Regions from separate parts of the Homo sapiens genome. Here region 2 is linked to region 1. The links are contacts of gene promoters, found by promoter capture Hi-C in human tissues and cell types (Jung and others, 2019). All regions are on one chromosome and are shown on one strand. The core of a region is centred on a gene start or on the middle of the fragment in contact, and the rest is flanking DNA. Distances in the headings are between cores, read along the strand shown. Region 1 holds the start of PCGF3 (polycomb group ring finger 3). Region 2 holds the start of MIR571 (microRNA 571).

Region 1 (5,025 bases), core at 1,654-4,153:
CAGGACTTTCTGATGAAAACAGAAGAGAGCAATTGGGAACAAGACCACATGTCTGTACCCCAGCAACAGAAAGGGTGGTGACAAAGGCAGTTGGATTTACCCCACAAAGTCCTGGAGCATTTGGTTGAGACATGGGGGTAGGCGCAGATGCCTGATGTGCTTAAGAGAGAACTCGGGGAGGGAAATTGGAGAAAGAGTTCCTGAAGAGTGACGCTGTGAAGACAGCAGAGAAGCACAGGGTCCAGCGAGCTCTTTCTGTTCTGCTCCATCCTCAAGGATGGGCAGACCCTCTGCCAGTTTGTGAGTGACCAGAATGATCTGCCAGAGAGGCACCCAATGGCCCTAGGAGGCCCTAGTGACTGGGTGGGCAGGGAGGGCGGACCGGCACCCTGGGGAAGGTTGGGGCACCCTCTGGGGGGGACAGGGGCCTCCCCTCTACTCCAGTCTGCTTGTGCCATGATTCCTGCCTCCCTTCTTTACAGCTCTGCTAAGGAATACGTGCCTGTATGTAATATGTGCACACCCCGAACTCACACCAGGACAGCACACACTGCCAACACCCTAGGCTTCTTTGGCCCCGATGCCTCCACCCTCGGGCCTTGGCTGAGTGAGGTCCCAGGAGGGTGCAGGTGGGAGACCTGGCTGGCTGCCGATGGGCCATGGATGGCCAGTTTGGGCATGAGAGGAAGAGGGTGCAGAGGACTCTGGGGTCTTGCCTCAGGACTGGCGGTGGGGGGTGGGGGGTCCTGGGGTACACAGCAGACTCAGGATGGCCTGGGGAAGCCATCCGGCCATGTGGCATTTAAGCTTCCTAATGACATTCAGCAGAAACAGAGCTGGACACAAGAGCCCAGGGCTCAGAGTCAAGGTCCGGGCACCGCTGGCACCCACCCAGGAGAGTAGTGGGAAGCCTAGGGGTAGGGTCTGCACCTCCTTGAGGAGGGGCCTGGGGCCTGGAGTGAGTTCTGAACTGCAGCTTACCACTCTGCCTCTTCCTGAGGCCACCACACTCAGCCCAGGACTGTTCCTGGCCTGCTGGCCACCCCCTGCCCCTTGCACCCCAGCACCAATACCTTGCCCCTGCCCTCCTTCTGGGATGATCCTCCAGTCCTCCCCTCCACATCTGGGGCCTGCCTCCACCAACTGAAAACTGCAGTCAGGGCTCTTGTGGAGGGCCAGCACCCCAGTACCCCAATCCCAGGCAGCCCTCTCCAGTGGGCCCCTCCCCTGCACTGGGCCACCCCATGGCTCCACGGAGCCCTCCCTGCCTCCCCTCCCCCGGGGGCAGCAGTGGCCACATTTAGTCCCTCCCCTTCACAGCAGCATGCCTGGGAATGCTGTACACATTCACATGTCTGCTGTCTGTCCTCCTCCCACCCGGATAACGTGTCCACCCAGTGCTGGAGATCTCAGCAGGCCCCCAGCCCTTCTCAGGCCCCTCTCAGCAGCGGACTCAAGCCGCTTCCCCACGTGCTGCACCATACCTGGGCCCGGGGCCCCCTGCCTGGTGGCTGCTCCCGGGGTCCAACTCTAGACTTCACGGGGACAGTCGCAGGGTCACTCCCTCAGCCACCACCTCTCCAGACGGGACGAGCTAATGACTCCCGACTCCTGCTCCATGCCTGCACCGCACAGCCTCGCAGCGAGTGCCCCTGGGCCTACGGGGCCTCCCCTCTCGCCACCAAGCCTCCACACTGCGCGGTGCCCCGCCGCCCGGAACCACAGTGGTCTCGCTTCCCACCCAAGACCCAACCTGCCCTCCCGTCCTGGGCCGCCAGCCCAGAACCCGCAAACCGGGAGACCCTAGGACCCCGCGTGCCTGCACGTCCGCCTCACCCCCGCACGCGCCCTCGGTCCTCGGATCCCGCCCTCTCAGGACAGTGCCAGTCCCACGAAGGCGCAAATGCCGCCCGTACTGCTCCACCCTGGCGGAGGGCACCCAGGTCGGAGAGTCCGCACGTGGGTGCCCTGTCCGTCCTGATGCTGAACATAACCTAAATACAAGCCTAAACATGACCAGACCCGAACCCCTGACCCTGACCCCACCCCTAATCCTGACCCTAACCCTAAACCCAACCCTAACCCTAAACCTAACCCCTAACTCTGACCCTACCCCTAATCCTGACCCTAACCGTAAAACCAACCCTAACCCTAACCCCTAATGCTGACCCTAACCCTAAATCCAGTCCTAACCCTGACTCTAACCCTAACCCTGACCCTAACCCTAAAACCCAACCCTAACCCTAACCCTGACCCTAACCCTAAACCCAACCCTAACCCTAGACCAGACCCTAACCCCTGACCCTGACCCCACCCCTAATCCTGACCCTAACCATAAACCCAACCCTAACCCTAACCCCTAATGCTGACCCTAGCCCTAAACCCAGTCCTAACCCTGACTCTAACCCCTAACCCTGACCCTAAACCTAAACCCAACCCTAACCCTGACTCTGACCCCTAACCCGACCCCTGACCCTAACACCGACCCTTAACCCTGCCGGGAGGGCGCTCAGTCCCGGCTCCCACAAAGGACAGCAGCACCCGTACTGGACGGCACCCCCGGAGGGACCCGGGCCTGAGGACTCTGCTGCTCCAGCGCCCCAGCTCACGATCGTCCAGGACCCGTCGGGTCCCTCAGCACAGCGCGGCCCTGTCGCTCTCCTGACCACGCCCCTCATGGCCCCGCCCTATGCCTCGCCCCTGGCCCTCGCGCCCCGCGGCTCCCTCCGCCGAGTCCAGGCCCGACGCGCCTGCGCCCTCTGAACACGCCCCTCCCCGCCCCTATCCCCACCCCTTACCGCCTGGCCCCGCCCACGCCCCTTGCCGCGGGGTGGGAGCCCAGACGCACACCGCGCATGCTCCGAGCGCGGCGCCCCCGACGCGGCGCTCGGCTCGGCTCGGGCATTTCCGCCTCTTTGTTTTAAACTCCGGACGGGCTTTTTTCTCCTCCTCTTGGGGGGGACCCAGAGGGAGCGGCGCCCCCTCCCCCCTCCGGCGCGGACCCCGCGTGCGCCTTGCTCGCCCGCAGCCCCGAGACCGCAGGTCAGTGAGTCCGCCCCGCCTGGCCTGGGCCCTCGGCGCCCGCTCCTCAGGCTGCGGCCTCGGCCCGTGTCCGGCCCGGAAGGCTCCGAACCCCGGGCCCGCGCTCCGTCGTCCCCGTCGGCCTGGCCCGGGAAGCCCTTGGCAGGCCCGGGAGGGCCGGCACCCCAGCCCAGTCAGGACTCCGGGAGGTCGAAGACCCCAGCCCAGGCAGGACTCCGGGAGGGCCAAGAGCCCAGCCCAGGCAGGACCCCGGGAGGGCTGGGACTCCAGCCTAGGCAGGACGCAGGGAGGGCAAGACCCCAGCCCAGGCAGGACTCCGGGAGGTCGAAGACCCCAGCCCAGGCAGGACCCAGGGAGGGCTGGGACAGCAGCCCAGGCAGGACGCAGGGAGGGCAAGACCCCAGTCCAGGCAGGACGCAGGGAGGGCAAGACCCCAGCCCAGGCAGGACTCCGGGAGGTCGAAGACCCCAGCCCAGGCAGGACCCAGGGAGGGCAAAGACCCCAGAACAGGGAGGGCCAAGACCCCAGACCAGGCAGGACCCCGGGAGGGCCAAGACCCCAGACCAGGCAGGACCCAGGGAGGGCGAAGACCCCAGCCCAGGCAGGACCGCGGGAGGGCAGGGACCCCAGACCAGGCAGGACCCCGGGAGGGCCAAGACCCCAGACCAGGCAGGACCCAGGGAGGGCGAAGACCCCAGCCCAGGCAGGACCGCGGGAGGGCAGGGACCCCAGACCAGGCAGGACCCTGGGAAGGTCGCGACCCCAGCCCAGGCAGGACCCAGGGAGGGCGAAGACCCCAGACCAGGCAGGACCCAGGTGAGGGCGAAGACCCCAGCCCAGGCAGGACCGCGGGAGGGCAGGGACCCCAGACCAGGCAGGACCCTGGGAAGGTCGCGACCCCAGCCCAGGCAGGACCCAGGGAGGGCGAAGACCCCAGACCAGGCAGGACCCAGGTGAGGGCAAAGACCCCAGCCCAGGCAGGACCGCGGGAGGGTAGGGACCCCAGCCCAGGCAGGACCCTGGGAAGGTCGCGACCCCAGCCCAGGCAGGACCCCGGGAGGGCTGGGTCTTCAGACCAGGCAGGACCTGAAGAGAGTTGGGCTCTGGGATTGCACAGGACCCCCAGAGTGCTAGGACACAATGACACATCATCCAGGAGGGTCTGACCCTGGGACAGGTCACCGAGAAGGGCTGGGACCCCAAGATGGGTCACCAAGGAGGGTCGGACCTGGCCACCTGGCAGGGCCCGGGGGGGCTAGGACCCTGGGAAGAATCACGGAGGAGGGCCAGACGTAGGGACCAGGCAGAATCCAAAGAATGCCAGGACCCCAGAATAGATCCCCCAGGAAGGTCCTGCCTTAAAGTGGGTCACAGACGAGGGCCAGGACCCCATGACCATAATTCAGGAGGACCTGACCCTGGAGCAGTCTTGTGAGTCCTGTGAGCACTGCTGGGACCCTGAGACTGCCCCGTCTCCCCCGGGACCCTGAGACAGCCCTGTTTTCCCCTGGGGGCCGGGACCCTGGGACAGCCTGTTTTCACCCGGGGGCCGGGACCCTGGGACAGCCCTGTTTTCCCCTGGGGGTCGGGACCCTGGGACAGCTCTGTTTTCCCCTGGGGGTCGGGACTCTGGGACAGCTCTGTTTTCCCCTGGGGGTCGGGACCCTGGGACAGCCCTGTTTTCCCCTGGGGGTCGGGACCCTGGGACAGCTCTGTTTTCCCCTGGGGGCCGGGACCCTGAGACAGCTCTGTTTTCACCTGGGGGCCGGGACCCTGAGACAGCTCTGTTTTCACCTGGGGGCCGGGACCCTGGGACAGCTCTGTTTTCCCCTGGGGGCCGGGACCCTGGGACAGCCCTGTTTTCCCCTGGGGGTCGGGACCCTGGGACAGCCCTGTTTTCACCTGGGGGTCGGGACCCTGAGACAGCCCTGTTTTCCCCTGGGGGTCGGGACCCTGGGACAGCCCTGTTTTCCCCTGGGGGCC
Region 2 (5,025 bases), core at 1,688-4,187, 360 kb before region 1:
TGTATGTATATATATGTATACACACACACACACACCGCCCCCCCCATATATTGGCTACTGTAAACGGTACTACAATAAACATGGAGGGGAAGATAGTTCTTTGAGGTACTAATTTTATTTCCTTTGGTAGTATGCCCAGAAGTGGTATTGCTGGATTATATGATACTTCTAGTTTTATTCTTTTTTTTTTTTTTTGAGATGGAGTTTCACTCTTGTTGCCCAGGCTGGAGTGCAGTGGCACGCTGTTGGCTCACCACAGCCTCTGGGTCCTGGGTTCAAGCAATTCTCCTGCCTCAGCCTCCGAAGTAGCTGGAATTACAGGCATGTACCACCATGCCTGGCTAATTTTGTATTTTTAATAGAGACGGAGTTTCTCCACGTTGGTCAGGCTAGTCTCGAACTCCCGACCTCAGGTGATCCACCCGTCTCAGCCTCCCAAAGTGCTGGGATTACAGGAGTGAGACACCACGCCCGGCCAAGTTTTTTTTTTTTTTTTTTGAGACTGAGTCTCTCTCTGTCGCCCAGGCTGGAGTACAGTGGCAGGATCTCGGCTCACTGCAAGCTCCGCCTCCTGGGTTCACGCCATTCTCCTGCCTCAGCCTCCCGAGTAGCTGGGACTACAGGCGCCTTCCACCACACCCAGCTAATTTTTTGTATTTTTAGTAGAGACAGGGTTTCGCTGTGTTAGCCAGGATGGTCTTGGTCTCCTGATCTCATGATCCGCCTGCCTCGGCCTCCCAAAGTGCTGGGATTACAGGCGTGAGCCAAGGAGCCCGGCCGCGCCCAGCCTAGTTTTATTCTTTACTGTATTTTTGTAAGTTTATCAATTTGCATCTCACCACCAGCATACAAGATTTCCCTTGTATGTATTTCTTCTTTGGGAAAAAAAAAAAATCTAACCTTTTGCCTATTTTCGAATGGGTTATTCATTATTATTGTTTTGCTTTTTTGCTTTGAATTGCAGAAGTTTGTTACACATTTTGGATATTAACTTTTTTTTTTTTTTGGAGACAGAATTTCTGTCGCCCGAGCTGAAGTGCAGTGGCACGATCTTTGCTCACTGCAACCTCTGTCTCTCGGGTTCAAGCGATTCTCCTGCCTCAGCCTCCCGAGTAGCTGGGATTACAGGCACGTGCCACCATGCCCAGCTAATTTTTTGTATTTTTAGTAGAGACGAGGTTTCACTGTGTTAGCCAAGATGGTCTCGATCTCCTGATCTCATGATCTGCCTGCCTCGGCCTCCCAAAGTGCTGAGATTACAGGCCTGAGCCACCACACCCAGCTGGATATTAACTTATCAGATATGGCTTGCAAATGCTTTTCTATTTTGTAGGGTTTTTAAAAATTTTGTTTTTATTTTTTCCTTTGATGTGCAGAGGCTGTTTACTTTGATGCAGTCTCACTTGTTTATATTTTATTTTGTTGCTGTGCTGTTGATGTCATTTCAAAAAAAGTTATTGCCGAGACCAATATCAACAAGGTTTTTCCATATGTTTTCTTCATGAGTTTTAAGATTTCATGTCTTAATTTCAGTCTTTGTTTTGAAGTCTGAAATTAGAAAGCATGATGCCTGCCAGACAAGGTGGCTCACACCTGTAATCCCAGCACCTTGGGAGGCCGAGGTGGGCGGATCACTTGAGATCAGGAGTTCAAGACTAGCCTGGCCAATATGGTGAAACCCTGTCTCTACTAAAAATATACAAAAACTAGCTAGGGGTGGTAGTGGGCGCTTGTAATCCCAGCTACTCGGGAAGCTGAGGCAGGAGAATCACTTGAACCCAAGAGGCAGAGGTTTCAGTGAGCCTAGATCACTGAACCTAGATTGTGCCACTGCACTCCAGCCTGGGTGACAGAGCTGGACTCCATCTCAAAAAAAAAAAAAAAACAAGTATGATGCCCCCAGCTTTGTTCTTTCTCAAGATTGATTGCTCAGGTTATTAAAAGTCGTTTAAGGTTACACCTAAATTTTACAATTGTGTTTTCTATTAGTGTGAAAAATGCCAATAAAATTTTGATAGGGATCACATTGAATCTATAGATCACTTTGGATAATATTCTTTGACAATATTAGTTATCCTAATGGAATATGTTTCCATTTATTTGTTTCTACTTCACTTTCTGTCATTGATATCTTATTGTATTTAGTGTATAATACTATATGTTTTTTATGTCATTTGGTTAAATTTATTTTGATTAACTTTCTTATTTTTATACTATTGCAAATGGAAATGGTTTCTATTTTTGGAAAGTTTGTTTTTACTCTATGGAAATGCAAGAAATATTTGTATGTGGTGCCAGGTGCAGTGGCTCATTTCTGTGATCCCAGCACTTTCAGAGCCCAAGGCAGTTGTATCATGTGAGTACAGGAGTTTGAGATAAGCCTGGGCAATAGAGTGAGGCCCTGTCTCAAAAAAAAAAAAATCCCAACAAGCATCTATATGTTGATTATGTATCCTGATACTTTAATGAATGCATTTATTAGTTCAATCAATTTTTCTTATTTTACTCTAGGGTTTTATGTATATGCATGATGATATTATCCACAAACAGTAACTTTTTTATTTCTTTTCCACTCTGGAGAGCTTTATTCTCCTTTTCCTTGTCTAATTGTTTTGATACAAACTTCCAGTCACATGTTAAGATAGAAGCTGTGGCCCTGGAGGCAGGCCTGCAAGTCTTGTCCCCGGCTGTGGTCTCTGAAGCAGCCCTGTGTCTGCATTTGACAAATTTCACAGTTTGTATAAACTATTTTTGGCAGGTAAAGATCTCCTTTTGTTGAGTCCCAGGCTGATGAGATTACCTCTGGGGTTGCAGAGAAGAAGGGTTGTAGCTGGGTCACAAGGGTGCTGCTGGGTCTGCTGTGGGGTCTGCCTTTGATGATTGTATTACCAGAGATTTGGACAGTCATGGATTATTTCTGGGCCCTGGAGAGATTAGATTTCCTTGAGGATATTAATCTATATGGCAGGCAGTAGACTAGGGTTTTGAAGTTTGTCTGCATATGATGGGCCAAATACCAGGTGTATGAATGGGTTTGGCTTCTACTGACAACCTGGGAACAGTTTCCACACTTTTCTCTTTGGGTCCCTGATTGTGTACAACTGGCCATGGACTGTGACTGTGAGGGCTAGAACTGAGTCACAGGGCTCAGGAGCACAGCTGAGGCCAGGATATACAGGCCTGCCTCCAGGGCCATGGCTGGGTGTGTATCTCCCTGCAGGTCTCTTGATGGGAAGGACCACGTCTGGACTGTAGCTGAGATTGAATTTGAGAGAGGTTACAGAACTGCTTCAGAATCCTCAGTAAGACCAAGCTCAGTGTGCCATTTCCTTGTCTGTAGCCATGTCTATGGGCTCTTGAGTTGGCCATCTGAGTGAGGGCCTGCTTATTCTAAATAACCCTCGATCTCTGGCTCCACTGAGGTTTCACAACCCTAACCATAGGCAAGCACCTTTCTACTTCTGCTTTCTATGTGCTTACTACTTAAAATATTGTATAAAAATGGAATCATGCATTGTCACTTTGTTAGCGTCTTATTTCACTAAAATAATGGCCTCAGGATTTATCCTTATTGTAGCATCTGACAAGACATTTTCATTTGAAGCTAAAGAATATTTCATTGCGTGTATAAGCCACATCTTTTAAAATCTTTCATTCATTGAAGGATGTTTGAATTTTTTCACTTTTTCACTTTTGTAAATTATACGGTTTGGATCTATGTCCCCATTCAAATCTCATGTCAAATGTAATCCCTATTGTTGGAGGTGGGGCCTTGAGGGAGATGATTGGATCGTAGGGTTGGCTTTTCATGAATAGTTTAGTACCAGCCCCTTTGGTACTGTCTTTGCCATAGTGAGTGAGTTCTCCCGAGATCTTATTTTTTATTTATTTATTTTTTGAGATGGAGTCTCGCTCTGTGGCTCAGGCTGGAGTGCAGTGGCATGATCTCGGCTCACCGCAAGCTCCACCTCACGGGTTCATGCCATTCTCCTGCCTCAACCTCCAGAGTAGCTGGGATTACAGGTGCTTGCCACCATGCCCGGCTAATTTTTTGTACTTTTTTTTTTTTTTAGTAGAGACGGGGTTTCACCATGTTAGCCAGGATGGTTTGGATCTCCTGACCTCATGATCCGTCCACCTCAGCCTCCCAAAGTGCTGGGATTACAGGCGTGAGCCACCGCGCCCGGCCTGAGATCTTATTTTTTAAAAGCATGTGGCACCTCCCCTCTCACTCTTGTCTTGCTCCTGTTCCCACTGTGTGAGATGACTCACTCTCCCTTTGCTTTGTGCCGTGACTGGAAGCTTTCTGAGGCCTCCCCAAAAGTAGAAGCTGCTGTGCTTCCTGTACAGCCTTCAGAACTATGAGCCAGTTAAACCTTTTTTTTTTTTTTTGAGACAGAGTCTCGCTCTGCCACTCAGGCTGGAGTACAGTGGCGCGATCTCGGCTCACTGCAATGTCCGCCTCCCAGGTTCAACTTATTCTCCTGCCTCAGCCTCCCGAGTAGCTGGGACTACAGGTGCCTGCCACCAAGCCTGGCTAATTTTTTTAATTTTTAGTAGGGGCGGGGTTTTACCATGTTAGCCAGGTGGTCTCCTGACCTCATGATCCGCCCCTCGGCCTCCAAAAGTGCTGAGATTACAGGCGTGAGCAACCATGCCTGGCCGGAGAAACATTTATACTTCCATATACTTGTTGAAGTATAAAATGTAAGTGCCTTACAATTTTCTTTCCTCCTAAAACATAAGCACTGAGTTTGAGGCATTTTCCTGGATTTTTCAACCACTGAGTTCTTTTTATATAAAACTAAGTGAATAACCTTGACTGGGAATCCGAGACCTAAGCCTGTTGACTGCAGGGTAAGGTCAATCTTGATTCTGCCAAAGCAGGTCATCAATAGCCCCGTAATGTGTTGCTGGTGAACCTTTCTTTCAGGTGTCTCAGCCTGCTCAAATTAGACAGGGAAGGAGCCCTGGAAAGCTGGGTATCCACAGGCAGAGGCAGTGAGGGTTTGGATGAGAGGAGGT

The links. Contacts are between HindIII fragments. The study calls those that stand out against the background at their distance.
Region 2: a fragment that was not itself captured here is called in contact with the fragment with the promoter of PCGF3 in region 1 in 1 of the 25 tissues and cell types used here (lymphoblastoid cells).

What each region holds. Positions count from the first base shown.
Region 1 is chr4:702,929-707,953 of GRCh38, forward strand. It overlaps PCGF3 (polycomb group ring finger 3), which reads left to right and starts at 2,904. Exons shown (of 11, transcript NM_006315.7): 1 at 2,904-3,042. RefSeq lists enhancers at 924-1,651, 2,692-3,677, 3,678-4,662 and a silencer at 2,627-3,326. The HindIII fragment of the contact is 34,476 bases long and covers 1-5,025 here.
Region 2 is chr4:346,860-351,884 of GRCh38, forward strand. All of the region lies in intron 3 of ZNF141 (zinc finger protein 141), which reads left to right. MIR571 (microRNA 571) reads left to right here and starts at 3,298; the gene lies at 3,298-3,393. The HindIII fragment of the contact is 5,531 bases long and covers 173-5,025 here.